2 separate regions of the Homo sapiens genome follow, and region 2 is linked to region 1. Evidence: promoter capture Hi-C in 16 types of primary human blood cells and fetal thymus (Javierre and others, 2016). All regions are on one chromosome and are shown on one strand. The core of a region is centred on a gene start or on the middle of the fragment in contact, and the rest is flanking DNA. Distances in the headings are between cores, read along the strand shown.

The links. The method cuts DNA at HindIII sites, captures the fragments that hold promoters and counts their contacts. A CHiCAGO score of 5 or more calls a contact.
Region 2: a fragment that was not itself captured here is called in contact with the fragment with the promoter of PNMA1 in region 1 in 4 of 17 cell types (M0 macrophages, M1 macrophages, M2 macrophages and 1 more); the score reaches 8.4 in M0 macrophages.

Annotation. Positions count from the first base shown.
Region 1 is chr14:73,712,818-73,715,633 of GRCh38, forward strand. It overlaps PNMA1 (PNMA family member 1), which reads right to left and starts at 1,567. Exons shown (of 1, transcript NM_006029.5): 1 at 1-1,567. The coding sequence starts at 822. It overlaps MIDEAS (mitotic deacetylase associated SANT domain protein), which reads right to left. Exons shown (of 13, transcript NM_001367710.1): 13 at 2,305-2,816. RefSeq lists enhancers at 963-1,022, 1,963-2,032 and silencers at 1,113-1,282, 1,463-1,742. The HindIII fragment of the contact is 4,676 bases long and covers 1-2,816 here.
Region 2 is chr14:73,508,051-73,511,268 of GRCh38, forward strand. HEATR4 (HEAT repeat containing 4) reads right to left here. Exons shown (of 18, transcript NM_001220484.1): 8 at 1,262-1,423; 9 at 84-244. It also overlaps a transcript of ACOT1 not described here. Among named protein-coding and RNA genes, the nearest start is that of RIOX1, 19 kb to the left of the region's middle. The HindIII fragment of the contact is 5,736 bases long and covers 1-3,218 here.

The sequences.
Region 1 (2,816 bases), core at 317-2,816:
CTTCTGTAGCAGAGGCTCCAGACGAATGACATAAGCAGACAATTTTTCTCCCGGGTTCTGATAAGTGTTCAGAAATTTGATCTGGGCATCCCTAGAGCTCTCAACGCTCCCAAACACCTGCTCAAGCGCCTTCAGGCATTCGGCAGTGGTTATCGCGGGGTTGTTGGACTTAAGGATGCGAATAACATCAGCGGCGGGGCCTCTAAGACTCTCCATCAACCGCCGCCTCTTTTCTACATCGGACACCTGCCACTCCTCTAGGACCTCATTAGTGTGCTCCAGCCAGGGATCAAAGGTTTCCTCTCCAGGCCCTGGGATGTCCCTCCCCGAGAAAAGTGTCAGCCTCTTGTACCATATGGACTCAACAAGAGGCTGAATAACATTATCCAAAATATAGTTTAGCATCTCTGCTGGCATCTCTGGGCCCGGGGTCGGAGTAGGGTTCTGAAACCCAAGGACACGGGCAACATCTTGCACGGTCCACCCCTCTCTAGCTAGGAAGAGGTGCAATCTTTCTAAAAATTCAGCATCAGAAGTTGGGGGCTTAAATAACACTTTCCAGACCCCTCCTTTGCCCGGCATCTCCCTGGGGATCGCGGCGTAATCTACAGCGCCAGTGAGCTCTAATAAGGCTGCTTTCGCATTTTCTTCCCTCCAGAACATTCTCCCAAGCATTCGGTAGGAGACCTGGGGCATCGCAGCCTGGAGGGTCTCTTCGATTTCAGCCTCATCACAGTTCACTGGGATGCCCCAGACTAACAGAGCTCTCTGGGAGTTCACATCCATCCCCCGGCACCAGTCTTCCAACAGTGTCATCGCCATTTTCTCAACTATCAAGACGCCAAATTCTACCAACAGACTGTGGCTCACCGTGCTCCTGGCCTTAGAACAATACCAGACACTCCCACCAAGTAGGCCCGAGGGAGGCGACCTTCATGCAGTCACGATTAACAAAGACAGAGTCCTGATCTCGCCCTTCTCTGCCCCCACAGTCAGTCCGTAGGTGCACTCGGAGCCGAGCTCGGGGACGCTGAGGCAGTCACGCGGCCGTCGCCATCTTGCGTCTGGGTCTGGGTCCGGTCGGGTCCGCCGCCTGCAGCAGGGGCGTCGCGTCGTCGTGCAGCGGGCGAGGAGCGACGGCGGGCGGCGAAGGCAGGCGCGCTGGGCCGAGAGCCGCCGGGGTGTGGTCGCGGGGCGTGGCCGCCGGGCGCTCGCTGCGGCTCCTGGAGAGGATCGGGCGTTCGCGGTCGCAGCCTGGTCTTCCCGCGGGCGAGGAGCGGCCGTTTGGGAGACTAGCCAGAGGGAGAAACTGTGCCGAAGTCGCGGCGGCTGCGGGCCAGCGGAAAGCGGCTTCTTGGCGGGCGCGGGGACTCCTCTGGGCGGGCGGCGAGGACGGCCGAGGACCAGAAACGAAGGCAGCAGAGGAGCAGGAAAGTCGGAGAAGCGAGGCTGGAGACAGCAGAGGCGAGGGTGGGAAGGGGCGGCCGCGGCGGCCCGCAGCGGTTCAGGCGCTGCGCGGCTGCTCTGGCGTCCAGTCCTACCCGCAACCCGCCGCGACGTTACTGCTGCAGTGGAGGATGGGGCCAGCCGGCGAGCGGCGTCCGCCCCGCCCCGCCCCGTCCCGCCCCCGCGGCGGAGCTGCTCGGGCGTCTCCATGGCAACGGTGTCCCAGCCGGCGCGAGGCACGCCTGCTCCGGCGGCTCGCGGGGGTCGAGCGGTTGCCGTGGAGCCAGCGAGGGGCTCGGGCATTTGTTTCTCTGATGGCGCATTTCCTTTTTCATAATTTAGCATTTTAACAGTAAACAACTACTACTAAGCACCGTGTTTTAAAAATAATAACCCAATCCTGGAGTGGATTTAAGATGATATTGTTGGAAATGCATCCCTCATGGTGGACTTGTCTACTCGGGTTGCTCAGCCAGTCCACCCTGCACGTGAAAATACTCTCCTCAGAACCCTGGCTTCCCGTTGCCCCTGACCACACTGTGCACCCTGCATATTTCATCCCAATGAAGCCAAAATGTCGGAGTGCGCCATTTCTGTGTATTTGTGTGAGACACTGAGTTTAGACTTTTTCTTGTCTAAAATTTTGTAAAAATCTGTCTGTGTCTACTGAGTCATCTTTTAGCCAGGCAAACATTAGTGTATTATTTTCCTTTTCCTGGCTGGCATCATTGACAATAGGCTGCTAAAAGAGAATCCTTATGGTTCAAAAATGTCGAGTAATCTCCCTGCAAGCAAGACAAGGCGCACTTACATCAACCCCAGATGGTGAAAATCCCAAGAGAACAAAGCATTCAACTCTGAATTTTTAAAACCTTATTTAATAAAAGGTTTAAAGATACAGAAGAACATTCAAAAGTAAATAAGTTACATAGGTACATTACAATCACATCAGCAAGATTCTTTAGTGTATTAATTTTTTTCTTATAAAAAGCACACAAAAAATAAAATCTTCAGTCTCTATCACAACTGTACAGCAAAAGAGGTAATATTTATATATGTACACTATTTTAATATGTAACAGTCTTTTTAAAAAAGGATGCCACAGGCAGCAAACACACAAAAGGCAGTGTCTGATCATTTTTGTTTCAAAATAAAAGGAATATACTTATTTATATGCTATTAAAATATCTGTACAATAATTACAGACTGTCAAGGCTGTTCCTGTGCTCTGTCCCCTCCAACAAAGCCTTCAACTTAGAGACAAATGAGGAAAAAGTGAAACAGCTGCAAATTGTTAGAAGCAAATATTAACATAGCAAAATGTGGGGAGGACACAATTGTTTTATAAAAATATCCCTACTTCCTGTAAA
Region 2 (3,218 bases), core at 719-3,218, 200 kb before region 1:
GCATTTCAGATTGCTTACATTCACTGACCTCAAAGACCTAATTGCTCCCCAAAACTGTGTCTGACCCGGTAATGGACACATACTGTCTTCTCACTCAGATAGCTCAGGAGGATATAAGACTGTTCCTCAGTGTCCTCATTCTTCTTTGTAAACAGCTGGTGGAGGATCCTCTTAATCACAGGGTAAGTAGCAGTACCTTCCAGAGCCAAGCACTGAGCTGCAGCCCAGCTATCCACACTGTTACCTGCCACAGTTGGGTGAAAAAGAGTTCAGAATGGTGATGTGTTTTCCCCCTAGAGAACAGCCTTTGGATTGATACCCAAGGCTGCTACCCCACCTGATATCTCACTTCCTTGTGCCCCACTCAGTCTAGAAATACAATTTCTTATTTAAACCATATTGAGAAGAATCATATTGGCTGGGCACGGTGGCTAACACCTGTAGTCCTCACATTTTGGGAGGCCAAGGTGGGCGGATCACCTAAGGTCAGGAGTTCAAGACCAGCCTGGCCAACATGGTAAAACCCCATCTCTACTAAAAATACAAAAATCAGCCAGGCGTGGTGGCATGCGCCTGTAATCCCAGCTACTTGGGAAGCCGAGGCAGGAGAATTGCTTGAACCCAGGAGGCGGAGGTTGCAGTGTGAGCTGAGATCCCACCATTGCACTCCAGCCTGGGCAACGAGAGTGAAACTCTGTCTCAAAAAAAAAAAAAAAAAAAAAAAAAATTTAGTCCAGCTACCACTTGGTGGCAGTGTACCTGTTTTGTTAAAGTACCTAGAAAGAGCAAATTTTCTTTTTTTCCTTTTTTTTAGAGACAGGGTCTTGCTCTGTCACCCAGGTTGGAGTACAGTGGCACCATTGTGGCTTATTGCAGCTTCAACCCCCTGGGCTCAAGCTGACTCTGATAAGCATGTATATATAGGTCTGCCTCAGCCTCCTAGGTAGCTGGGTCTACAGGAGCACACCACCGCACCTGGCTAATTTTAAAATTTTTTATAGAGATGGGGTCTTGTTATGTTGCCCAGGCTGGTTTAGAACTCCTATGCTCAGGTGATCCTGTCGCCTTGGCCTCCCAAAGTGCTGGGATTACAGGTGTGAGCGACAGTGTCTGGTCCTAATTTTCAAATGGTCTAACATAAATCTAAACCCAATACAGCAGACATTGCAGAGCATCACAGTGGAGAGGAAAGGACTGGGAAAGCTGATAGTGAGATGTCTATCCCATATTTCCAGGTCAGAAGTAACAGGGAGTTACTCACCCTTCAGAAGGGCAGTCTGCATGATGTTCCGGGCAAGGGGATTATGTGACTGTATGGCATATTGGCATATTGCTGCTGCCATCCGCACATGGGCATTCTTGTCACAAAGAGCAGCCTCTAGGGCAGGCAGTAGAACCTCCGGCAAGTCCTGGATGGTCTTGTCTGTGATCAAAAGAGCCAGGTAAGAGAGTACTAGCCCCTTTGCTTTTCTCACACACAGCTTCCTTCCTACAGCCATGTGGTGGCCAACCTCAGTCCCAGCTGCAGTTGCTTAGTGCTATGTAATATAATTACAGTTTAGCTGAGCCCTTCAGATGGGCAGGATTTTCTGCTCAAGGTGTTAAAGCTCACCTGTGTGCTGGTATGCCAATTCCCAATCCTTTATCATCTGGCCTCTAAACAGCTATATTTAAGCCGAAGAAGAATGTTTCCAGCTAGGCTACAGTGAACTACACCATTAGTTTTAGTGATTAAAAGCAACCAATTTGCCCCATGAGCCCATATATATATATATATATATATATATATATATATATATATATATATATATATATATATTTATTTATTTTATATATTTTTTGAGACGGAGTCTTGTTCTGTCACCTGGGCTGGAGTGCAGTGGTGTGATCTCAGCTCACTGCAAGCTCCGCCTCCTGGGTTCACACCATTCTCCTGCCTCAGCCTCCCGAGTAGCTGGGACTACAGGCACCCAGCTAATTTTTAGTATTCTTAGTAGAGATGGGATTTCACCGTGTTAGCCAGGATGGTCTCGATCTCCTGACCTTGTGATCCACCTGCCTCAGCCTCCCAAAGTGCTGGGATTACAGACGTGTGCCACCGCCCCCAGCTGAGCCTTTATATTTGTAAGAACAATTATATTTAGGTAGTGCTTTATAATATAGTGTTTTTACATTATCTTGTTATCTTTCAACCTTGGTTGAATTAGGCAAGGTAGGTATCATTGTAGAGCTCACTAGGGAGTCTTTTTTGGTTCAACTAAACAGTAAGGTTCATAAGACTGTCATGGGCCATGCATGGCACCAGAAGAATATGGGACAGGAGCATAGTTTGTCAACAGGGCAGCAGCATCAGGCATCCCTGTTGGCTGGAGTTTTTTTGTTTTTGTTTTTGTTTTTTTTTTGAGATAGAGTTTTTGCTCTGTTGCCCAGGCTGGAGTACAATGGCACAATCTTGGCTCACTGCAACTTCTGCTTCCTGGGTTCAGGCGATTCTTCTGCCTCAGCCTTCCGAGTATCTGGGACTACAGGCACCTGTCACCACGCCTGGCTAATTTTTGTATTTTTGGTAGAGATGAGGTTTCACCATGTTGGCCAGGCTGGTCTTGAACCCTTGACTTCAGGTGATCCACCTGCCTTGGCCTTCCAAAGTGCTGGAATTACAAGTGTGAGCCACCACACCTGGCTTTGGCTGCAGTTCTTGAGGCTGTCTTGAGCATTCCACAGAGTCTTGGGGACAGCACAGGAGCATGTTGTTTATTCACTGGGTGAATTTATGCTTTACAGGAACTAATATCTCTTATAAAAACTCCATAGACACAATTCTAGGGTCCACAAAGGGCCTGCCTGTTATAAGTTACAGTATCCAGGGAGGCCCAAACTATGGTGTCCCTATCAAGTATTTATATTTCACTTATAGCTCTTCTCAGTCCCAATGTAATTTATCAAACAGGATTTATATCATAACCAATGTTGCCTATAAAGATAGTTCTTATCAGGTGTTTAGGGGAACAGGTGGGCATTTAACTGAAGTTCAAATTCTCAAGTAGGAAGGGGAAAGGTTTGTTATCCCTTTGTCTACCACTAGTCTCATTTTATAGATAGGTAATTTGAAGCTCAGAGAGGTTAGCTGACTGCCCAAGGAGTGGCACAGCTAAGCCCGTGAATCATATTTTAAGATTTTGTCAGGTGCGGTGGCTCATGCCTGTAATCCCAGCACT